Linked DNA regions of Homo sapiens: all the other regions are linked to region 6. Evidence: promoter capture Hi-C in 16 types of primary human blood cells and fetal thymus (Javierre and others, 2016). All regions are on one chromosome and are shown on one strand. Each heading gives the region's core, a stretch centred on a gene start or on the middle of the fragment in contact. The rest is flanking DNA. Distances are from core to core; before and after follow the strand shown.

The links. Contacts are between HindIII fragments. The CHiCAGO score rates a contact against its expected background, and 5 or more counts as called.
Region 1: a fragment that was not itself captured here is called in contact with the fragment with the promoter of TRIB2 in region 6 in 7 of 17 cell types (naive CD8 T cells, total B cells, fetal thymus and 4 more); the score reaches 9.8 in naive CD8 T cells.
Region 2: a contact is called between a fragment that was not itself captured here and the fragment with the promoter of TRIB2 in region 6, in 4 of 17 cell types (total B cells, naive B cells, total CD4 T cells and 1 more). The highest score is 7.3, in total B cells.
Region 3: a fragment that was not itself captured here is called in contact with the fragment with the promoter of TRIB2 in region 6 in 5 of 17 cell types (erythroblasts, total B cells, M0 macrophages and 2 more); the score reaches 7.8 in erythroblasts.
Region 4: a fragment that was not itself captured here is called in contact with the fragment with the promoter of TRIB2 in region 6 in 1 of 17 cell types (total B cells); the score reaches 5.1 in total B cells.
Region 5: a contact is called between a fragment that was not itself captured here and the fragment with the promoter of TRIB2 in region 6, in 4 of 17 cell types (total B cells, naive B cells, erythroblasts and 1 more). The highest score is 7.4, in total B cells.
Region 7: a contact is called between a fragment that was not itself captured here and the fragment with the promoter of TRIB2 in region 6, in 4 of 17 cell types (monocytes, neutrophils, total B cells and 1 more). The highest score is 6.5, in monocytes.

What each region holds. Positions count from the first base shown.
Region 1 is chr2:11,748,921-11,752,296 of GRCh38, forward strand. The region is part of intron 1 of LPIN1 (lipin 1); the gene reads left to right. Among named protein-coding and RNA genes, the nearest start is that of LPIN1, 4.0 kb to the left of the region's middle. RefSeq lists enhancers at 408-667, 688-737 and a silencer at 1,198-1,257. The HindIII fragment of the contact is 6,273 bases long and covers 1-3,376 here.
Region 2 is chr2:11,942,985-11,946,472 of GRCh38, forward strand. No RefSeq gene overlaps it. Among named protein-coding and RNA genes, the nearest start is that of MIR3681HG, 62 kb to the right of the region's middle. The HindIII fragment of the contact is 3,195 bases long and covers 335-3,488 here.
Region 3 is chr2:11,804,160-11,807,365 of GRCh38, forward strand. LPIN1 (lipin 1) reads left to right here. Exons shown (of 21, transcript NM_001349206.2): 16 at 264-412; 17 at 911-997. Among named protein-coding and RNA genes, the nearest start is that of MIR4262, 31 kb to the right of the region's middle. The HindIII fragment of the contact is 2,019 bases long and covers 267-2,285 here.
Region 4 is chr2:11,784,400-11,787,775 of GRCh38, forward strand. LPIN1 (lipin 1) reads left to right here. Exons shown (of 21, transcript NM_001349206.2): 10 at 487-677; 11 at 2,675-2,768. Among named protein-coding and RNA genes, the nearest start is that of MIR548S, 19 kb to the left of the region's middle. RefSeq lists a silencer at 324-618. The HindIII fragment of the contact is 4,737 bases long and covers 1-3,376 here.
Region 5 is chr2:12,019,190-12,022,555 of GRCh38, forward strand. All of the region lies in intron 2 of MIR3681HG (MIR3681 host gene), which reads left to right. Among named protein-coding and RNA genes, the nearest start is that of MIR3681HG, 14 kb to the left of the region's middle. The HindIII fragment of the contact is 1,208 bases long and covers 1,471-2,678 here.
Region 6 is chr2:12,715,582-12,718,820 of GRCh38, forward strand. TRIB2 (tribbles pseudokinase 2) reads left to right here and starts at 1,355. Exons shown (of 3, transcript NM_021643.4): 1 at 1,355-2,996. The coding sequence starts at 2,727. It overlaps LOC124905974 (a long non-coding RNA gene), which reads right to left and starts at 1,177. Exons shown (of 2, transcript XR_007086222.1): 1 at 1-1,177. RefSeq lists silencers at 943-1,162, 1,253-1,312 and enhancers at 1,265-1,904, 1,753-1,822, 3,184-3,239. The HindIII fragment of the contact is 5,863 bases long and covers 30-3,239 here.
Region 7 is chr2:11,915,430-11,918,833 of GRCh38, forward strand. No RefSeq gene overlaps it. Among named protein-coding and RNA genes, the nearest start is that of MIR4262, 80 kb to the left of the region's middle. The HindIII fragment of the contact is 5,197 bases long and covers 1-3,404 here.

The DNA.
Region 1 (3,376 bases), core at 534-3,033, 970 kb before region 6:
TGTTTGCACTTGCACTTCCTCACTGGTAGCCCGGGCGTGGGATCTTGGAGCTTTTGAGGGGTCCTGAGGAGGAAGTCCCTGGAATCACCCACTAGCAGCTTTGGGGCTTGTTCCTTGAGAAGGGCAAAGTCACAATTTTGACACTTTATTGAACCCTGGACCAATGTATTGTATAATAAGCCCACTCATTTAAAACTGGAACGGGGTGTGTGGGGAAAAAAGAGTTGGGACAAAACCCAAGCAAAGCCGTTCAGTGACGTCACAGGTTCTTCATTCAGAAGAGGCCCAGGTGCCTATCGGATGGCTGTTTCTGAAATGTTCGCTTTCTGAGCTGTGAGGGAGGGTCTGGAGAGAGAGAGGGGCCCATGCCTGTGTGTCGAGGGGACACACCCACACTGGCCCTGCTCCTTGATCAGAGGATGCACCAGCGCCTGAAGGGAATCTGTGCCCCCTAGGAGGCCACACTGGGCCCTGGGGCTGCTGGGGTCCGAAGCAAGTGCCCTGACCTCCCTTCCTGTGGGTTCCCTTCCTCTTCCTCTTTCCACAGCTTTCCCCTGTCTGTCTCCCTACCTGTAATTCACCCCAACAAGCCCTTAGCAGCTGGGGTTGGGGTGGGGTCTGTGCAGCCAGGGATATGTTGAGTAGTGAGTTTCTGCCTGTAGAAAGCTCTGGGTCTGGGCTGACCCAGACCCAGGCTGACACTTTTCACAATGAGGTATGTGGCCCAGGAGTCTTAAAACCTCAGCAGTGTCTGGCCCACAGGCTGTTCTGCACACTGAGGGATGCAGGGCGCGTTGTGCCGCTCCCACTCCCAGCTGAGAGGTTGGGAGGAACCAGATGGACTGGGCTCCATCAGGAGAGAAGCCAGAAGCATTTTCACACCGGTGGTCATGGCTACAGGGTCATGGTTACAGTGGATTTTTCAACCCACTGACCAAATGTTGTGATTCTTGCAACAACTTAAAATTTTCGGCTGATGCTGAATGCTGGGGCTTTCCAGAAATAGCCATAGGCTGTTAGAACAGGCACTTTGCTCTGTAAGGAGGCCTGTTTGTTCCTGAGTGTGAGCTGATTTGCATTGGCTCACAAAGTTGACCACAGACCCTGCATGGGAGACACAACCAACACCCCCATTTGCCTGCTGGCACGCACTTGTGCCCCCCTCCCCTCCCCGGCCTCGCTCCCTGGAAGCCCTCGCACCTCTCCCCTTGCCCTCTGTCCCCTAGCCACACACACTCACTTTTTGATGAAGTCGTCCTCCGCGTTCATGGATCTCACTAGGCTGTAGGTCTTCAGTTTACAAGACAGGAGACAAGCAACAAGGGTTTTAGGATAATGGGCACCAGACAAGACAGGCGCCCAGACAACTGTTCTGGCAAAACAATGTCCCACCATTGGACTCTGTGCAATGCCAGAATGCCACCAGTCTCGGGGTGGCCTCTTTGGGCTCAGATTTTGGGCAAATGAGAATGTGGAATGTAGGCATAGCCTTCAAATAGTTCTGTATTCATTTTAACTAGTAATATTCTTTGCCTCTGTCTTTTTGGGAAGGTACTATTTAAATAGGTGATATATACAAAGTCCCCTCTGGCAAGAGACGTTATTCAAAGACCGGATTTTGTCTGGAACCAGTTTGTGGTCACAGAATTAGCACGTGGTTTTTATTTGGTGCATGTGCTTTGAAAAGTACTTTACATTTACTGCCTCACAACAGTCCTATGAGGTGGCTGTGCTGATGTCATCCCTTTTTATAAAATAGATGCGAAACTGCAGTGCAGAGAGCTTAGTAACCTGTCTTTGATCACAGAGTTAGTGGAAGGTGGAGGCAGGATTTGAATACCTCCAGAGCCTGCGCTCTTACCTGCTGAGCTATATTGTCTCCTAATAGTGCCCTGGAACACCCAGGTGATATATGCCCACCTCCCAATTGCTGGGGTGTGGTAGGGGTGGGGGGTAATACAGAAATAAAGTTATAAGGGCAGAGCATTCTTTTTGACCAAGACACGAATTTGGACAGAGGGCTCTTGAAAGTGCGTAGAGAGAATGTGCCATTGGGTCTTTGAAGGAAAAGAACGTCCTGTCCTTAATCAGTGAGCTAAATAATTAAGAGCCAAAGGATCGGAGTCAAAGCCTTGGGCTGTTTTGCTCAGCATAGTTGTCATACCATATTTAGATGTCTACACCCACCTTTATCCAGGCCATTTGTATTTCTTGGCAGGAACGTGAGAACAAGCGTCACCTGGGGTTGTGGTATCTGAGGGTTGCAAAGTGTCAGCGCTGGAGGAGCTGAGTGATCACTCATCTGACCTTCCCTCCAAAGCAGGAGTACCCCTGTCCAGCACCCTGTCCTGTCTCAGTGGTTTCAGTGATGGAGACCCTGAGACTGAGTGGACCAGAGTTTTCCATCCTTCACTCCCAGTTCTCTGAGGTTACTAATAATTGACATGAAATACATGCAGACATAAAAAACACAAGCTAGAAAGCAACACTATGGGAAGTATTTATGATAAAAAGTGAAGATCTCTTCCTCCTTTTCCCAGGCTGGTCCCCAGGGGTGAATCTTGTGAATCTTGTTTTGTATGTATCTCATTCCAGAATTTTTTTATGCATATCAAAATATGTACAAATGTAATTTTTTAAAAATGGGTCCAGCTGGGCGCGGTGGCTCACGCCTGTAATCCCAGCACTTTCGGAGGCCGAGATGGGTGGATTACGAGGTCAGGAGATCAAGACCATCCTGGCTAACATGGTGAAACCCCGTCTCTACTAAAAATACAAAAAAATTAGCCAGGCTGGTGGCAGGCGCCTGTAGTCCCAGCTACTCGGGAGGCTGAGGCAGGAGATTGGCGTGAACCTGGGAGGCGGAGCTTGCAGTGAGCCGAGATTGCGCCACTGCCCTCCAGCCTGAGTAACACAGCGAAACTCCGTCTCAAAACAAAACAAAACAAACAAACAAAAAACCACAATGGGTCCATATTATAAGTATTTTTGTACCTGTTTTCATTCTATATATACATTTTCATGTTAATATTTATGGAGCTACCTCTCTACCATTTTATTATCAGCCTCATAATATTCCATTTTACAATGTGGATGGCCCATAATTTATTAAGCCAGAGTCATACAGATATTAAGTTATTTCTGATTTTCCCTATTACAATTAATGCTACAGTTACTGTTTTTGTACACGGATCTTACTGTATTTGTACAATCAGTTCCCAGCGGTATAGTTGCTAGGGTTTGCCAATAGGTGCCCCAAAAGATGGGCATTGCCACATTGCTTACCCCATTTATGACCCTGTTAGTAGTGAGTGACGATGTCTGATTCTCCTACTTTTCATGGGCCCTGGGGTTTTAATGAAATGCTTTGATTTTG
Region 2 (3,488 bases), core at 682-3,181, 770 kb before region 6:
ATCTCAAAAATAAAAAAATAAGAAGCTTGGCCGGGTGCAGTGGCTCATGCCTGTAATCCCAGCACTTTGGGAGGCTGAGGTGGGTGGATCACGAGGTCAGGAGATCGAGACCATCCTGGCTAACACAGTGAAACCTCGTCTCTACTAAAAATACAAAAAATTAGCCAGGCGTGGTGGCGGGCGCCTGTAGTCCCAGCTACATGGGAGGGTGAGGCAGGAGAATGGCATGAATCCAGGAGGCAGAGTTTGCGATGAGCCGAGATCACACCACTGCACTCCAGCCTGGGTGACAGAGCAAGACTCCGTCTCAAAAAATAAAATAAATAAATAAAAAAGCTTCCGGTGGCCCCCTCTGACCCATGGAAGACACTAGAACCTGAAGAGTATCGACCCCAGAGTCAGATAGCCAGGAGTTGTGAATCCTAGCTTCACCATTTAATAAGAGCTTCTTGAAAAATCTCATGCAAAAATTGAGGATTACCAGAAAACCTACCCCATAGATGTTGTGAGTGTCAATTGAGTTCATATGTGTAAGGCACCGGGCATCATGTGTGGTGAGGAAGGACTCAGCAATTGTTGCCTGTGTTTTTTATTACACTATAAAGCTCAGAACCCTTAGCTTGCTTTATGTTTCTCTATATGGTATTTTCAGTGGAATATCTTGCATATCCCTATATATATTTTTTCATGTTTGAGCCACCCTAAACCTCATTATTCCAGGATTCATCAGTATTTAAACTTAGCATTTTTTTTCTTCTCTAGAATCTCCTTTTCCCCATTCTATGCCTAAGTAAACCATACGGAAGACGACAAGTGTGACAGAAACAAAGGATCCAGGAGTCATGAAGAATTCCAAGATGGCCCAGAATCTCCCTAGTTATGTTAGCATTTTTATTTGAAAGTGGCATAGGCCAGGTGCGGTGGCTCAGGCCTATAATCCCAGCACTTTGGGAGGCTGAGGCGGGAGGATCACTTGAGGTCAGGAGTTCGAGACCAGCCTGGCCAACATGGTGAAACCCCGTCTCTACTAAAAATATGAAAGTTGGCCAGGTGTGGTGGTGCACACCTATAATCCTAGCTACTGTAGTGGCTGAGGCATAAGAATCGCTTGAACCCAGGAGGCAGAGGTTGCAGTGAGCCAGGGTTGCACCACTGCACTGTAGCCTGGGCGACAGAGTAAGACACCGTCTCAAAAAAAAAAAAAAAAAGTAGCATAAGATGGAGGTACAGGGATGTGTGACCCTTTGTTACTGAAACACGAGGGGTTCAGTGTAGGTCCTGTTGCTCACTACACAGAAAGTCAATCACTGAGGCAATGAGTATTACCAGGGAAGAAAGTTTTAATCGGGTGTTTCAGCCAAGGAGATGGGAAATCGGTCTCAAATGTGTCTCCCCAACAACTAAAATTAGGGGTTTATATAGTGGAGAAAGAAATGTAACCGTGTGTGAGAGGTAAGGAAGAGGAGCTGGTCAACAGGCAGTGGGTGGTTGATTAGGCAGTTATGACAGGTGAGGGGTCTGGCATCTCATTGTCCAGATACTGTGATCTAGTGAGTTTCAGTTCCTTGATACTATTTGGCAGGACTGATGGTTGATTTCCTGAAAAAGGAACTCCGATAAAACAAAAGTAAACTTCTGAAGTTTTAAGACTGGAAGGTTCAATTTCTGTGTTTATTCAAAAGAAACCATACATCAATTCTATGGGACAATTGGGCCAGTTTCACCTCCTTTTTATTTCTTCACCTCGACTGACATGGAGTCTGAAGCTAAGCAGGGGATCAGTATGCACATGGACTGCTGAGAGGCTGCTCTTTCTCATGTTTAGTGTTGGTCACTGAATTCTGCCTCTGGTCCTTGGCTGTCTGGAGGAGCAACTGAACATGGACAAAAGGTAAAAAACTCATTAAAGAGGTGACAGATGTCACTCAGAGGAAATGAATACACCTTGAAGGGGGTATGTTTTAATCAGAGACAAAGAAGCTCTCCAGCAGTTCTAGAAAATGATAGCCAAGATTTGTTGATTATCATATGCCAGGCACTGTGCTAAACACCTCACATACATTATCTTTTTTTAATGTCAAAACAAACTTGTGAGGTGTTACTATTATTTTCATTTTACAAATGTGACACCAAGATTTAGGTAGATTGAGTTACTTGTTGAGAGTTGAACCCAGCTGTCTGATGACAAAGTCTATTATTATTTTCAGAAGTCTCTAAAATATCAGTCCTTCAAAACTCCATCTGGTCAATGGATCAATTGGGTTAGTGGTTTTTAAACTTTTGACCTTAGTCCACAGTAACAAATACATTTTCTTTCATGACCATGACTCATGACTCAGGACACACACACACTCTTATAACCTCTTTTTTTTTTTTTTTAAGAGAAGGTCTTGGTCTGTCACCCAGGCTGGAGTGCAATGGCATGATCTCAGCTCACTTCAACCTCTGCTTCCCAGGCTCAAGCAATCCTCCCACCTGAGCCTCCTGAGTAGCTGGGACTACAAGTATATGCCACTATGCCCAGCTCATTTTTGTACTTTTTGTAGAGATGGGGTTTCATCATGTTGCCCAGGCTGGTCTTGAACTACTGGGCTCAAGTGATCCACCTGCGTTGGCCTCCTCAAATGCTGGGATTACAGGTTTGAGCCATCGTACCCAGCCTGTACACTCATATTTACATGCCCGCATATGAAAAGTAAAACTGAAACAAAAGTTTCACAACTCAATAGTTGCACTTCCTATACGTTTTCTATTAAATTTTCATTTTATTGCAAAGAAAAGGCTTATTATAACCACCAAATTTGTACGTGGTAATTTGCACTTTGAAAGTCTTAGAATATTTTTAATCCTTTTTCAAATTATTGGATCCTTATGTTTCTGTATTTCTTGGAAATCCTTTTAGGCTTATCCCACCCACTAGTCATTCCAGGAAATACCTTCTCATCATATATATAGACATTTAGTATGACATGGTCATAAGATCTTAGAGTATTGTTTTGTAGAAATTGCTAAAAAGGTATTTTGTAAAGTGGATTTTTTTGTGTGTTTTGTAACAGGAGAATTTGCTTTTATTTATCTTATTACCAAAAGAAATTGTATTATACTGATCATTTCCATATGTATTTTTAAAGTTGCTTGGCTGGGTTGAATCTTTATTCTTTAAGTTACAAGGACATTGTATTCAAATAAAAGGAACAATCATAATATTATTAATTAGAGCAGTAAGGCTTTGGTTTCCATGCAAATAAGCATAATTGAAATAGAACTGAGTTTTTTTTAAAGTGGATTTTGAAACTGGTGGAAAAACTTGGAAAACAAATATCTCAAAGCTAAAGCAAATGCAATCTGTATATGTAAATGAGATTGATTAATTTTAGCAGGCAAATGAGAAAATCAATGATTTTCAAAATCGAGTAATTTGGTAACCATTAGTTTCATTAGTCTTTCTGTTTCAAACTTAATTATTTAAATATAGAACTAGATTGAAG
Region 3 (3,206 bases), core at 26-2,525, 910 kb before region 6:
ATCCTGGGAAGTAGAACAACTCTGTAGCAAGTAGGCAAGTTGCATTACAAGGGGGCCTGAGAGAGCTGAGGTTTCATTTTGCCTGTCCAGCCCCGGAAAGAACCAGAACAAGGAAGGGTGGGGAAAGAAAGAATTATACAAGGGCCCAGGGCAGTCACTTGTTTTTAAAGCCGAATCCTGCTTCTCATAGAACAGAAGCCAAATGCCCATCAATCAGGGCCTTTCCCTCAAGCAGACAAATACTAATGGTTCATGTTTTTCAGAAAAGCTTGAAGTTGAAGAATGGCCCCAACGACGTGGTTTTCAGTGTCACCACGCAGTACCAAGGCACGTGCCGCTGTGAGGGCACCATCTATCTGTGGAACTGGGATGATAAAGTCATCATTTCTGATATTGATGGGACAATTACCAGGTAGGTCCTGCTGACTTGGGGCCCATGGTAGATTTCTTTGCTTCACCGTGGGGGTCTCTGGGCCTGGTGTTGGCACCTCTGCTCTCCTCATGGGACTTGCACGGTTCGAATTCTGGTGCAGTTGGAGCTCCTTACGTAGTTTCAGCTCCTTGGTGGCAATCATTGTGTTTAGGGCTTAGTTGTTTCCTTCTGGGGTATTATTATCTCTTCGACTTGGTTGCTTCTGTGGGGGCTTCTCAAGAACGTCTTTTTGAATGGCCTTTACCTTTGATTGAACAAGCCGGTCACCTCGATGCATGATCAGACTGGAGGCGTCCTTCTGTGGATTACCTGTCCCTCCGTCAGCATCAACTTTGATGACTTGAGCCTTGGGCTTTCTATCCAGAAAGAAAGTTGTGGGTCTTGTTTGTGTTTTTTTTTTTTTTTTATGAGGCATGAATGGTGCAATGAATCTGAAAGGGATTTTTACTTTATTTTTCTCTTTTCCTCTTCATTTAGATCAGATACTCTTGGCCACATTTTGCCCACCCTTGGGAAGGATTGGACCCATCAGGGCATCGCTAAGCTGTACCATAAAGTGAGCCAGTGAGTACAGAGTTCCTGTTTCCCGCCTCCTGTGAACGCTGGTGTGTGCACCGCACTCTGCATATGGAATCTTTCCTGTCCCAGCACGGGGTGACTTGCAGAGAGGGCTGCACCTCAACCAGGGAGGGGCAGTGGGGGTCAGGGGTAGCAGTGGAGTCCAGAGTGAAAGTGAATCCCAGCAACTCCAAATTTGAATTCAATACCAAGAAACAAGGGGCGAAGTATAGGGGAATTGATTACTAGGAGAACACAGATGGTGGCAGCATTAGGGGTGAGACTGAGGTTTAGTTCATCCCGAGGGATGGCAGAGGTAGCCAGTTGAAGAAATAGGAGCTTATATGTTATATATGCCAAGTGATTTTCTGTAGACTAAAAAGTTGCAGATTCCAGGCAAGTTTTGGCGGCGTTGCAGACCCTGCGAGCCAACCAGCAGGGCACATCATGTCTACCTGGTCTGTGGAGTGCTCCAGCAAGTGGCCCAAAACAGAACAGTGCCCACCGTGGGACCCTCAGCCCCAGACATCAGATGGGAGAGGGGTTCTCCGACTGCTCTCCTGTGCTGGGTACATGGGTTACTTCACTTATATCTTACAGAGATTCTGAAAAGCACATAATATCATTTCTGTATTTAGATGAGTGAAATTAACTAGGAGAACTAAAGTGATTTATCCAAATTCTCATTGCTCTCGTCTGCCTCCAGGGTTCAGAGCCCTGCAGGGATTCTCCATGCCCCGCCCCTTCCGAAACACCCCCATTCTAGCTTGCCAGGCCCAAGCCTCTCTCCCGCTCAGTCATGCCTCCTCCAGCCTTTTGTGGCCTAGAGTCTCCCATGCGAGTGAAATCTCCCCCTCCACAGCATTCTGTTCTCCAGCCAGTTAGAGCTGGAAGGTGCCTCTGCCTGAATCAGGACAGTGCGGTCTCTCCGTGGGTGAGGTGGGTGAGCAAGTTACATTCACACTTAGTGAGTGTCAAGATAGTGTCAAGACGGAAGTGTCAGGCCCATGGTTCCCAACCTTGTTTGCTCATCTCTAGCCCACAGTGGTGATGGTAGGGAATGGGCCACCATCCAGAGCTGTTTCTAGAACTCTGTGAACACAGATGAATGAACTGTATTTCCCTGCCCTGCATCCGTTCATCCATCCAGCATTCCTTGAGTGCCTGTTAGTGCCTCATCCTAGGGCAGGTGCCTGGGATTGCTATGAACTAGGTAAGTCTCTGACCTGGGACTTTATGATCCAGTAGAAAAATGGCGGCTTGGAGAGAGAACCTTAATCCTGGTGGGATTAAAAGCTTCAGATTTTGTTGGGCACATGTCGATAGTCCCAGCTATTTGGGAGGCTGAGGCGGGAGGATTGCTTGAACCCAGGAGTTCGAATCCAGCCTGGGCAACATAGTGAGATTCCCCCCCATCTCTCTAAAAAAATAAGTATGTACATTAAAAAAGCTTCAGATGTCATCTTAGATGCCCAAGCTCATTGGTTTGACTTTACTTTTCTAGATTTCATCTTTAAAAAATTATTAATACAAAAGTTATGCATACTTCTTAAGACATAAAAATACTAATAAAAGAGGCTGAGATTATGGAAACAGTAAAGCGCAGAGGTTGTATCACCCTCCTGCCTGCCCTTGCTGCAAGCTATTCCCTTCCTTAAAAGTAGAACTACTATGAACAGTTTGGTTCTATCTTGCTGAATTTCAAAAACTTATTTACATCCCCACACACATACACTCACATTATTTAATTATTCATCATATCTTTTTTGTTTCATTTTATGTAATATTTACCTTACTCTTTTTGCTACTGGGCAGAATCCTGTCGTCTAGATACACCATACTTTCTTTAACTCGCCCTCTATTGATGAACGTGTAGGTAGTTGCCACTTTTTCCCCTATTGCCAACAGTGATGCAGTAAGCGTTCATAGACAATGCTTATGATATATAATGCATGTATAAATAAATAAAGAAGGCACACACACTTAGGGAAGTCCCGCTGTAAAGTAGATTCCCAGGAGTAGAATTGCTGGGTCAAAGGATGAGCACATTTAAAGCTTTGATCAATATTGCCGAATTGCCCTCTCAAAAGGTTATCCCAGTCTGTGCTGCTGTAGGTGGCGTATGTGCAGCGTCGCCTCCCCACAGCCTCACCACGGGCTGACCTTTCATTTAGAAGGATTAATCTACTCATGAGGTGCCTTGACTTGTGTGACA
Region 4 (3,376 bases), core at 1-2,500, 930 kb before region 6:
ACTGGGCGGCGCCCCACCTCTGGACAGGGGCGCAGCACCGGGCTGCCCTCCCTGCAAAGCCTGAGGTCATGTTGTCCACAGTGGTCGTGGTCCACAGCCCAGTAAGTGGCAGCTGTGCAGCCCTTTTTTCCCCCAGGAGGGTCTCCCGTGATCCTGGGGACCCACCCTCAGTCCCCCTGCGATCTAGGGCAGGGCTGGCGCCTGGAGGGGAAGGGCAGGGAACAGGGAGGACAGCTTGCTTCTTCTTCAGTATATTTTAGGGGGATACAGGGAGATGCAGCCAGCTGAGAAGTAATGGTTTTCTCTCCTAAGCTAAGGCGTTTAATGTCTCTTTCCTTGTCGTGGTGCTTTAATAAACATCTGTGCTGAGATGCAGCCGTCTGCGGCTCTGAGGGTGGCCGCGTGCCAGAGCATCACTGGATGGTGATGTAGGACCCTGAACTGGGACAGTCCTCAGCCGGTCTCTGCCGCTTTTCCTCCTTCCAGCGGAGATCCTTCCGGACTCGCAAAACATGCAAGCGACAACGGAGCCCGGTCAGCCAACCAGTCCCCGCAGTCGGTGGGCAGCTCGGGCGTGGACAGTGGCGTGGAGAGCACCTCGGACGGGCTGAGGGACCTCCCTTCCATCGCCATCTCCCTCTGCGGGGGCCTCAGCGACCACCGGGAGATCACGAAAGGTACCGCGGGCCTCGCGCGGGCGCCCTCTGGTGGCCGCCGGTCAGAAGGCGCAGAGGCTTAGGCTTCTCCAAGGAGTGCGTGTCAAGGCAGCTTTTCCCTTGGTTGCGGTTAATGATAGCACAGATGATAGCACCGAACTCATAATCCCGATGTTTCTGGCTTGCAGTTAGTCGGCCTCAGAGTTCTGTGGGTCACCCATGGCTCGGGCCATCGTTGTGTGTCTCCTGTGCCCCAGGCTAGCACTGCAGAGATGGCCTCCAGAGGCCTGCAGGCTAGAGGGGGTGTCAGTCTAATTAAATTAGAGGGTGTCGGCAGCGAGAGAGAAGTGCGCCGGCGCCTTGGAACAGGGAGGTCTGAGTTTGTCGGAGGAGGGCTGGGAACTTTTCCCAGCTGGATTCAAAGGGCGTTAATCGGGTGGGCTTAGGTGATTCATTCACAGCACCTGCCACATTCGTAGCAATGCACTCCCAGGGCCTCCTGACAGTTCCATGGCAGGGTGTGCCCACGCCCCCCAGTGGGTGCAGTCAGCAGTTATCAGCTGGGGACTAGACACAGTGGCCCTGCACCCCTCCCGCCCCCTCTCTCACCACTGCCTCTTTTCCATCCCCTCGTGGTATTTCTAGCAGGGAAGGGGCCGAGGCTGTGTACTTCTTCCCTCTACCTCTCAGGAGCCACCCCCATCTCCCCTTCCAACCAGGGCTGCCATGTGAGACTCCTGCCTCCACCCTGGTCCCTTCAAGGCTTTGGGAATTTTTTCTTCCGCAAAGATTGAGACCTTTTTGTTCTCACGCCCGTGCCAGCCAGTCCCTTGAGAGCGGAAACAAGATTGTGTGCTGGGTCCCGCCGGCTCCATTCATTCACTCAGTTTTCCTAGGGCCACACATTAATACCCAGCCTCACTGTGTTTCTGAAGTCATGGGGGCTCTCTGGACACTGGCGTGAGGAGTCCCCTGGGCGTTCCCTCCCTGATATACATGAGCTGGTGGGGGTGGGGTGGCAGCACTGACAAGGCTGGGCACCGTTATCTGAGTGTTATCTCATGGGGCCAGGATCTGCAGCTGTCCAGTCCTTACAGGTGAGGCCAGATCGTCACAGTCAGGAGACCCCAGGAGAGTCCCCGGAGGTCCTGATTAGGGCTCTGAGGGTGCATGTTGAAGCCAGTCAGGCTGGCATCAAGACCCAGGGACTCTTTTCCTGGACGGAGGAGATTCTCAGTGTCTGATGTCTGCTGGGTTTCGGTTCGGTTCAGGGTAAATAGGAGCTCCCAGGGAAGGAGTGGGCGTGGCTCTGGGCCAGGGAGATGGTCAGAACCGCGGTCAAGGCTTAAGGTACAGCCCAGCTGCCAGAGCCCGTCAAAGAACTGAGGGTCCGGGGCTGAGGTCTGGGCCTCCTGACCCTGCCACCTTCTCCTTTGCTCTGATCCTGGTGGGGCTGCCCCACCATGATGAGAACAGTGCCCTGCCTGCTTCTGATTGTGGTGGAGGCAGCCCCATTTTTGAAAGGGCCCTGTGCTTTCTATTTACGACATTATCAGTCCCCATGACCACCCTAGGAAGCAGATGTGGTTATTATCCCCATGCTAGAGGAGGGAACTGGGGCCTGGGAGGTGAACCGCTTGCCCAGGGTTACCCCCGTAATCGTGACTTCAGCCGAGGGAGCCTGGCTTCTGCGCCATGCGTAGCCATGACTCTGCCTGTGCAGATGCACGTGTGTGCTGTTTTCACCCCTACTCCCTGTGTGAACGTATGTGCCTCAACTAAGGTACACGTCCCCCAACATCCTCAGCCTTGCCCTGGCCTCCCTGCATTGCTGCACAGACGCCGCCTTCCAGGTAAAATGGTGCGGCCTTTACAAATACATTTTATAGGATTGTCTGCACAGTTGGAATGCACAAACTCTCAGAAAACACTTGTGAGTGAGCAAATGAAAGGTAGGCCTAATTTTGAACTGAATTTTCTTTTTGTTTTTCCCTGATCCTCTGCAATTGCTGTCACAGATGCATTCCTGGAGCAAGCTGTGTCATATCAACAGTTTGTGGACAACCCCGCTATTATCGATGACCCCAATCTCGTGGTAAAGATTGGGAGTAAGTAAGTACCTCTTGAAAGTCACTTTGGCAGTAGCATGATACTGTTTCTGTTTCATGTTTTCAAATAGACCTAGACATTAAGCCTTAGAAATATATAAAATAAAGACTTTGCTACATTGCATTATTGCATTATCTTCACTGTGGTCAGGGTTCCATGCCAATAGAATTGGCAATATAGCTGATAGGTTCAGATAGCTCTCAGTCTTGTGAGTTTTCTTTTCTTTTCTTTTTCTTTTTTTTTTTTTTTTTTTTGCGACAAGGTGTAGCTCTGTCTCCCAGGCTGGAGTGCAGTGGTGCAGTTGTAGCTCACTGTAGCCTTGAACTTGTGGGCTTAAGAGATCTTCCCACCTCCGCCTCGCAAAGTGCTGGGATTTCAGGTGTGAGCCACTACACCCAGCTCGATGTTCTTATTGAATGTGAATAGTCACACTCTGCAGTACATGGGTATGTCAGAGTAGCCTACATCTCTACCCTTTTGAAAAACTTCATTATCGGCTGGGCGCAGTGGCTGGCGCCTGTAAACTCAGCACTTTGGGAGGCCAAGGCAGGCGGATCATGAGGTCAGGAGATCGAGACCATCCTGGCTAACACGGTGAAACCCCGTCTCTA
Region 5 (3,366 bases), core at 825-3,324, 700 kb before region 6:
GAGTTCGTGGAACCGCCTCCCTTATATGTTTGTCATGGGTTACATGCCATACCATGCAGGGTGCTCCTAGTTCCGTGCCTGACATATAGTAGGTTAGTGTTCCTTGCCCTTTAAATTCCACCTTACCCCACCCAACAAGATTTTAAGCTTTGCTTGATGTCCGTTGTAGCTTAAATGTATGCATTTTGAGTTTTACAACAAATATATCAAGCATAGAATATAGTTCTTCAAATGTTCTGTGCCTCTTTGCAGATTTCCATTCATCCTCAGGGGGATATACGCACCTCTTGAGGTTGAGACCCGTCTCCTATGGAGGTGGTAAGTCACAGGAATGACCATTTTCTAATTTGACATCATTCTCTTTCTTCTGAAGGCCCTTTCTGGGGTTGTCAGGGCATAAAGGAAGAACTTCAGGAGACTCACTTCTGGAAAGTACTTCAATTCTGAAGTCCAGGTTTCTTTACTGGAATGCAATGGTGTTGACGCATCAGGGCCACAGGTGCATGGCCCTGAATTTCAGCTAAGTTATCCCCACGTGGCTGCAGGTCTCCCCAGCTCATCCCTCACCCATATTTGAGAAGGGCATGGCTGGTAGGGGGCAGTGCAGCCTGAGGTCAGAGAGCAGTTAGGCTTGGGTAGGTAACAGGGCCACACAGAGCTGATTTGATAGTCTTGGTTTTAAGTACAAAATCGTGATGTTGTTAGAACTCAGCCCATCCAAGTCCATGGCTCCACTGATTCTGTCAGTACTGTCAATTCTCCCAGTATAATCTACCATTACGATTTTCATAGGAAGATGCAATAAGAGATAAGTCAGAATGCAGAGCTGAAGGCAGAACTTAAATAAGATATTTTGTTTTTCCATGTATCCTTGGGAGAGACAAAGGTGCAGTCTTGCCTTAGGCTGTGGATGGGATTTGGAGGAGTTGGGAGGGAGTGGGAGCTGGGGAGAGCCAGCCACTGGCATCTCCTGGCATGGAGGTGACAGCCAAGGTCAAGGGCATACCTGTGTGTTCAAAAGATGTGGGGAAATTCCACATGGGCAGTGTTTAGGTTCTGACTTACCTAAAATGAACCAGTTAACATAAATGTGACTATGATGTAAAGGTATGAAAGAGGCCTTCACAGCCTTTCCCCTCAGAACCTTGTATACTTATGGTGGCTTTGTTTTGTTGACCAAGAAGATGACTGAAAAGGCGAATGGTAAGAAACAGGTCCAAATTTTCCATAAAGTATCAAGAAAGAAATGGGAGAAGACAGGGCCTGGAGAGCCAGTTGGTCTACAGATTTTAGAGAGAAATTAGAAATGAATCAGAGAAGGGAGATTTTAGAGAAGAGTAGCTGTCAAAGTATGTAAGATTTGGGGATAATAAAGTTTCTTTTAGAATTTTTGCTGTGTGTCTGAAAATGTAATTTTCCCATTGGTACCTCTGAGGAAATCCATTTCACATTTAAAGTGTTTTTTTCTGAAGCTTCTCCCCTTCTTCCTTGGGGTTGGGTGTGTCTTTTGGATACAGGGCAGTGTGGTATGATGGTTAAAGGCACAGCCTCTTTAACCAGACTGCCAGGCATGTTCTAGCTTTACTGCTCCATAGCAGTGTGACTTTGAGCAAGTATCGAATGCCTTTGTGCCTCAGTTTCCTCATCCATGATATAGGGATACTCATCATATTCCCCCAACAGAATTGCATGTGGTGTAATTTGAAACTGACCCAATTGCTCCATAGAACTGATGTTTATAGATTATTTTGAATAAGCATAGAAATTGACATTCCCCATCTTGAAACTTGAGAAACTGACATTTGTCTTATCTGAGTTCCTTTCCCAGGAAACCATCAGTCAGGCCACTCAGATAGTATCAAGTAACTGAAATGTACCAGATCACCGCATCTGGGCAATGAGAAGTCAGACCCCTTGCCTATCATGACTGCCTAACCGACCACCTGCTACCTGTTGACCAGCTCCTCTTCCTTACCCCTCCCTAATTCCTGTTTTTATGCATGTAGATACATTTTTTCCCTGCTATATAAACCCCTAATTTTAGTCAGCCAGGGAGATGGATTTGAGACTAAGCTCCCATCTCCTCAGCTGTAGCACCTGATTAAAGCCTTCTTCCCTGGCAATACTTGTTCTATCAGTGATTGGCTTTCTGTGCAGTGAGCAGCAGAACCTAGACCGAAACCCTAGTGTTTCAATAACAAAATGAGGTATCACTTGCAGAGCATGGAGGGCAGTGCTGGGACACAGTGAGAGCCATGAAAGACTGGATTGTTGAATTGTAATGTGACACCTTGTTGGCACCAGCTGCAGTGGGAATTTCAAGGAGTAATTATATCAGATTTTTGACTCATTTTCTGTGATATTGCTTATTAAATAATAGCTATGGATCCAAGTCAAGAATTCACCACTGATATTTCTGTCGGCTCTAGGGTGCAAGGGGTGTGGATTAACCCTGTCGTAGGGTGTGGTGGGACTTGAAGTACCACCCTAGAGACAAAGGGAGACTGGGCAGGGTGCTGAGCTGGGAAAAGAAGATTTAAAAACAAAAAATGAAAGTAATCATGATAATCAGCTAATTCTGTCTTCAGGACTGGATATTTCAGATGGAGGAGTGGTTTATCCAGCATTATAATTCACTCGTATGAGAAATTCTCTGAATTTCTCCTGGCAAAACTCCAAGCTTGATGGTTGCCTGATTTCTTAGCAGAGCTGAATGCTGTCTGGAAGGGGAGGTCAGATGTGGCTGAGGAGCCTGCACTAAGTCGAGGCTTGACTCTGTCCCACAGCTGGAGAAGTGCTGGGGTAAGTGATGGGCAACAAAGGCTCAAGCCCCTTCTGGGAATTGACATGGAGGGCTGCTGGGAAGATGAACCGTAGGTACAATGTGGTCTCCTGAAGGACCTGGTGCAGGGCTACATAGGTAACTGATCCCCAGCTGTGGGGCAGCTGACAATCAAAGGCCCTGTGCCCTCATTTGCTTCTAGTTTGATAGGGCTGGTCACAAGCAGAATTTCCATGGTAGCCTGATTCCTGCTGCCCACAGGACCGGCACAGGTGGGACATAGTTGGTAGCAAACCCTGCTCTGTCCAGGACTCTGGTGAGGTGGACACACTAGGCATTTTCTCTGCTGGTAGCAGGACATCTAGCAGCTGACAGCATTCAGAAGGGGAAAGACTTGGTGACACTTTAGCATTCTCGCTTTTTTATGGAAGAAATACATCTCCTCTTTGTGAACATCCATACAGTTTACTAGTGGGTGACCCTAAAATGGGCAAAGATCAGAACACATGTGTGTTCTCAACGATTCCTTCTAGTTCCTCTCCCAATTCCCTCAAAGAGGACTTTGAGACTCTGGCAAGTCCAGA
Region 6 (3,239 bases), core at 105-2,604:
TTCCTTTTAACTCTGTGCTGCTGGGTGGAAGCTTTATAGTCAATGTCCTCTCCATCTCTGGCCACATTCCCAGGACTCCTGATCATTAGAGTGACTGTTGTCCCAAGTGGACATAATTATAAATAGCTCCCTTCTTTTACTGAAAGTGTCCTACAGTGGACAATAATTTAGTCCCCTCCTCCAGTGGAAAATATACTACACGCATGCAAAAGCTCAGAGGGCTCCAGGAGTCGTCCCAACTCCCCTTTCTCAGTTCCTTGGGATTTTTTTTTTTAAGTTTGTCCTCTACTAGATCGCTTCTCATTCACCAGGATATCTTAGATCAAGGCTGGCGTTTGAAGCCTCTGCCTGAGTTCAAGCCCCTTGCTTCCGGTGTTCCTGTCCAAGCCCGCGGACTGGAATCTCCCAAGGAAGTTACGAATAATTCGGGGGGGGTGGCGAAATGGGGGGTGGAGTGGGGCGTGAAACTGCAGCCTTCACCTGGCTAACAGAAGAGGACTCAGGACGCCCAGCACCCTGGATAGGACCCAACAGCGCTCCCTGGAGGTGTGGGTGCAAAGTTTTGTCTAGCTTGGCCTCCAAGGCCCTCCAGGCAATGCACTGGGAAGGGAAGAATTAGTGATTAAATTTGACCTGAATCAAAAGATGCCTTCAGTTCCTCTTCTGCTGAAAACACTAGAAATACAAGCCCAGGATGTGGGGATCGGGGGCAAGCGGTGACACCAACTAAAAGGAAGCAATGGATTTCCTTTTAAATGGAGAGGAGGATGTCGGAGAGATACCATGAAACGAATTCTCGAAACTCCAGGCAGCAATACCGATGAAAGCGCATTCTTCCAAAACAGAGCTCCTCATTCAGGGCCACATCTGAGCCTGGGGGCCCAATGCTCAGAGCGTGCCTGGCTTTCTGGGGAAAAGCGCCAGGAACATGAACGAGCTACGAAGAGCTGGAGCGGGCGCTGCGGGAGCAGCGTGTGGGGAACGGCTCGGGAGTCGCTGCTGGTAACCCCGGCCCAGCCGCCCGCAGCTGGGCTCGCAGCCGGCTCGCAGCCGACACCCAGGGTGCTGCGCCCGGGGCCCCGGGCCGCGGAAGGATATTTCACTTTGTTTACCTCCCCGGCCGGGCGAGGGAGCTGCGAGGCCGGTGCTGGCGCCCCCGGCACGGAGCTGCAATGGCAGCGGCGCGGGGAGCCGCCCGAGGACTGGCAGCGGCGGGGCTGATTGATGGGCGCCCGGCGCAATGAGGGGGGCCCGGGCGGGGGCGGGGCGGGGCCGGCTCTGGGCTGAGCCAGTCGCGGGGGCGGCGGGGGGGGGGCGGAGGCTCCGTGGAAATGTGTCGGTGACATTGAATGGGGAGACCGAGCGCGAGCGAGGCGCGCGCGCGCACACGCGCACTCACGGCCCCGCTCGCTCCGAGATCCCCGGCCACGTAAGTAACTATTAATACCGCCTCGCCGGGGGATGCGGGCGTGCTGAGCGCGGGGATTGGCCTCGGGCACCGTCGGCCGTCCCCTTTAATTTTTAAATACACGGTCCCCTCTTTTCTCTGGGGGGGGCAAGCAAGAAATCAAAGAAGGAGGAGACAAGCCGTCAATTTTCTCCAAAACAAACCCCACCGGGCAATTTGGTCTCGGGGTAGGGGGAGACGGGGTGATTGCAAATTATTCCAGGACGAGATCCAGTTCTCCAGCGGGAAAGGGGCAAAGGAACGCCGCGCGTTGGAAGGGCCAGGGACGCAGCTCCCCTTGCAGCGCCCGCAGGACCCCCGCAAGCTCGTGCCGGCGAAATCGGAGACCGCCGATCTGTCCTCGTTCTCTCCTGCACGTCTGGCTGCATTCGGAGGAAGACCTGGGGCGCGAGCGAGCGGCGACAGCATGAGCCTGTGCTGACCTCCGCGCGGCGGGCCGAGCCCAGGGCTTTGTCGCGGTACCTGCGCCCAGCCCGCGCCGCAACTCTGTGCCCAGCTTTTGCAATCTTTTGTTGGCAGCGCTGACCGCACCAAGTTAAATGCTCCCTTGCAATTTTTCTTTTTTTTGTTTGTTTGTTTAATTTTTGGAGAGCTCGCGATCTTGGAAAAGCCTCAGACGCCATCTACAGTTAAAACGTAGGTAACTGCCCTCTCCCGCACCCCCCCCTTACACGCCCCCCACCCTTTCCACCAAAAAAAGGGGGTGCAGCGCGGATTCTGGCTGCCGTGCGTCGCCAGCCGGTAGACCCGTGCTTGTTTCCTTTCTCTTTTTGTTTGGCTTCTAACGCGTTGGGACTGAGTCGCCGCCGTGAGCTCCCCGAAGACTGCACAAACTACCGCGGGCTCCTCCGCCCCGTCTGCGATTCGGAAGCCGGCCTGGGGGTCGCGTCGGGAGCCCTGGCGCTGCAGCTCCGCACCTTAGCAGCCCGGGTACTCATCCAGATCCACGCCGGGGACACACACACAGAGTAACTAAAAGTGCGGCGATTCTGCACATCGCCGACTGCTTTGGGGTAACAAAAAGACCCGAGTTGCCTGCCGACCGAGGACCCCCGGGAGCCGGGCTCGGAGCAGACGAGGTATCCGGCGGCGCCCATTTGGGGGCTTCTAACTCTTTCTCCACGCAGCCCCTCTTCTGTCCCCTCCCCTCTCGCTCCCTTTTAAAATCAGTGGCACCGAGGCGCCTGCAGCCGCACTCGCCAGCGACTCATCTCTCCAGCGGGTTTTTTTTTGTTTGTCGTGTGCGATCCTCACACTCATGAACATACACAGGTCTACCCCCATCACAATAGCGAGATATGGGAGATCGCGGAACAAAACCCAGGATTTCGAAGAGTTGTCGTCTATAAGGTCCGCGGAGCCCAGCCAGAGTTTCAGCCCGAACCTCGGCTCCCCGAGCCCGCCCGAGACTCCGAACTTGTCGCATTGCGTTTCTTGTATCGGGAAATACTTATTGTTGGAACCTCTGGAGGGAGACCACGTTTTTCGTGCCGTGCATCTGCACAGCGGAGAGGAGCTGGTGTGCAAGGTAAAGGGCCAGTGGGTTGCTTTTTGTCTTTGGAAGGGGCCCGAGGGAGCGGGAGGGCGCCAGGCCCTCGAGTCTGGGAGAGGGAGATTCGCGGGATAATTACCGTGGCCTTATTAAATGGGTTTATTTATTTATTTGCTCAGGTTCGGTAAGTTGCGAAGTTTTTAGACCGTTTCAGACAATGGGGCGGGCGGCAGTGGGGGCGTTTCGGGGAGAGCCCGGGGAGGAGAGGGCGGCGGGACT
Region 7 (3,404 bases), core at 103-2,602, 800 kb before region 6:
ACAGGCATGAACCACTGTGCCTAGCCATTATGACATTTATATAACACAGATCCTATGTTCCATATCGTTGCTCAATTAAAACCCAATACAATTCCCTATCTTCCCAAGGGACTGTTGTAAGCTCCCTGATCTACGAGGTCTTCATGCCTCCTTGCTACACTATCATCTTTCCCTTCTGGCCTCTCTAATCCATGTGCTGCCAACCAGATGCCATGGCCCTTCACAGTGCCTTTCTGTCCTTTATACACAGGGGTTCCCTTGGCTTAAGGGCTCCCTAACCCCGCCCCATTTGTTGTCTAAATTTTTCTTTACTCTATGAATTGGTTCAAATATCACGTCTCTGCTAGAGCTTTCTTTGATCTACTAGCTCCCTCATGTAATTTTTCTGCCTTCCTGCATTAGGGATGATTCACTATTTTCGCTATTTACACATCTGCCTCCTTGAAGATAAGGACCACCCTTCATCTTTTATAGCTCAGTGTCAGAGTTTATATTTTGATAAACCACACACTTGTCATTGTTTGTTAATTTCATTGATACTTACTGAATTTTGGACATCTAGAGTATAAGCCAACACGATCTAGTATATCTTTCATTAGATGATGGAAATTTTCTATATCATTATCTAAGATGGTAGCCACTAGCTACTTTTCAATGTGGCTATTGAAATGAAATAAAATGGAAAATTTAATTCCTTTATAGTACTAGCCCCATTTCAAGTGATTCTTAGCCGTATATTACTAGTAGCTACCATATTCCGTAACGCAGGTAGAGTACACTCAGAGTGAGAAAGAAAATGGGAGATTACTTAGGGTTTTGAGTTCTTCCTGTAATAGCATTACTAGTATTCATTTGATTAGCAAATATTTTATCTATAAATAATGCAAAGGAGAGATTCTCCTTTAATCTCTATCTTTTAAAAGAAAGTTCTTCTAATTAATGTGCATGAAGTAATGTGGTTTTACAGTGCCTAGATTTGAAGCAAGAGTCTTTAAAATTAAGTAAAAAACTATATCTAGAGGCAGATGAATGGATTCCATCATGAATGGAAGTTTCATATCAGACTGTGACTCAATAAAACTACCCAGTTTTCATAGTTTAACTTTCAAGGCTTGTTTGCAGTTCACCATGAAGGATCTTCCTGAAAAAACATATTTATTTGGAGACACTCTTCAATCACTATAACAAATTGGCAAACTCTACACATATCTTCTGTAATTATTAGTCTGGTCTTTATGATGCCTTCATTTTGTGGGTGTGTGTAAGTGAAATCGAATAAATCCTGAAATTTTTCATTGGATGACACATTATTTATCCCAAATGTAAATCTCAGGTTTTGTTATCCTTTTCCATAGTTCCTATTGAACACTACAATTTACTTACCTCCCAACACTTGAGTTTTCATCATTATTCATATTTTACTCATTCACCATACATTTATTTAACATCTACTGGGTCCTCTATGTTGTGGTGTGTGCCAGGGAGACAGGGATGAATCAGGTACTGACTGAGCCCTCTGGGACCCACAGTTTAGCGGGAGAGAAGACAGATAAATACAGGCTGTACAACATTGCTTCAATGTGATTAGTGCTGAGGCCAGAACAAATTTCTATGGGAGCTTTGAGTAGGGAGCAATTCCTTTTCCTTGAAGCTGGGGAAAGTTTCATAAAACAAGTGCCACTTGAATAGAACGTAAGAATTAGCAGAAGCTCAATAGTAGAAGTAGTACATTGCAAAATGAAGGTTCAACTGAAGGAAATGTGGAGGCTTGAAAAATGTGCAATGTGTGGGAGAAGAGAGATCGTCAGGGTCCCTGGTCCATTCCATTCATCCTTCTGTTCCAATGCCATCTAAGTTTCTTATTATAGTTATGTGATGCATTTTCGTCCCATCTTGTTGATTTTCTTCAAAATGAACTTGGTGATGTGCTAGAAGAATGGACAGGACTCAGAGGCTGTTATATTCAGTTATACTTTATTGCAGGGAAAGGCTGCAGATCAAAGATGAAAGTCAGCAAAGGGAAAGGGGTGTGGAGTAAAGTCTAGGAAAAATAAGGCAGAAGCACTCAGGGAAATCCTCCCAGGGGAGTTTTATAGGGATGTCTAATTTCTTTCTTTTCTCTTTTTCTTTTTTTTCTTTCTCTTCTCCTTTTCTTTTCTTTCTTTTTTCTTTTTTTTTTGAGATGGAGTCATGCTTTTTTTTGCCCAGGCTGAAATGCAGTGGCACGGTCTCAGCTCACTGCAACCTCCACCTCCCGGGTTCAAGCGATTCTCCTGCCTCAGCTTCCTGAGTAGCTGGGATTACAGGCACATGCCACCATGCCTGGCTAATTTTTTTCTATTTTTAGTAGAAACAGGGTTTACCATGTTGGCCAGGCTGGCCTTGAACTCCTGACCTCAAGTGATCCACCCTCCTCAGCCTCCCAAAGTGCTGGGATTACAGGCGTGAGCCACTGCGCCCGGCTGGGACATCTAATTTCTGAGTATCAACATGTGACGACACGCATGGAGTGTGCCCAACCAGGGAGGCTCTGCTGAGTCTTGGTGTCCAAGGCTTTTCTTGTGGGTCAGTTTCATAGTCATGCAGCACCTAATGCGACTGACCTCAGCTTCTCAGATTCTAGACACCACCCCTCCCCACCACCTGCCTGTCCCCAAGGAAAAGCAGGCATTCAGGGCATTTACCATAAATCAGTGTCTGGATAAACTTATCTAGTCAAACTAATACAGCATGACACAAAGTCTCAGGCATATGAAACACTCTTATTGGGCAGAATATTTCTGGAGTTTAGAGCACATCTCCCCAAAGGTGGCCAAAGGCCAGTTCTGAAGGCAAACTTTCCTTTGGAATGTACAGGATTTGAGCAACCCAGGGCTGCTCAATTAACCTTTCCTGACCACTCTTCCTTTAGGATTTTAGGACTGGCTTGTCAATTTCCCCCAAAAAAACTTTGCTAGGATTCATGTACTGAATATAGATTAATTTAGGGAAAAATGCTTTTTCTATGATAATCTTCATAACTTTTTTTTTGAGACAGAGTCTCACTGTGTCACCCAGGCTGGAGTGCAGTGACGCAATCTCAACTAATTGCAACCCCCCGGGTTCAAGTAATTCTTGTGCCTCAGCCTCCCAAATAGCTGAGACTACAGGCCCAAGCCACCATGCCAGGCTAATTTTTGTATTTTCAGTAGAGACAGAGTTTTGCCAGATTGGCCAGGCTGGTCTCGAACTCCTCGCCTCAAGTCATCCACCTGCCTTGGCTTCCCAAAGTGCTGGAATTACAGGCATGAGCCACTGCGCCCAGCCAATCTTCACAACTTTTTATAAATGGCTAATTCCCCATTCATAAAGCCATTTATGTTTTTCAAAATATTTTACAATTTTTTTTTGAGATGAAGTCTTAT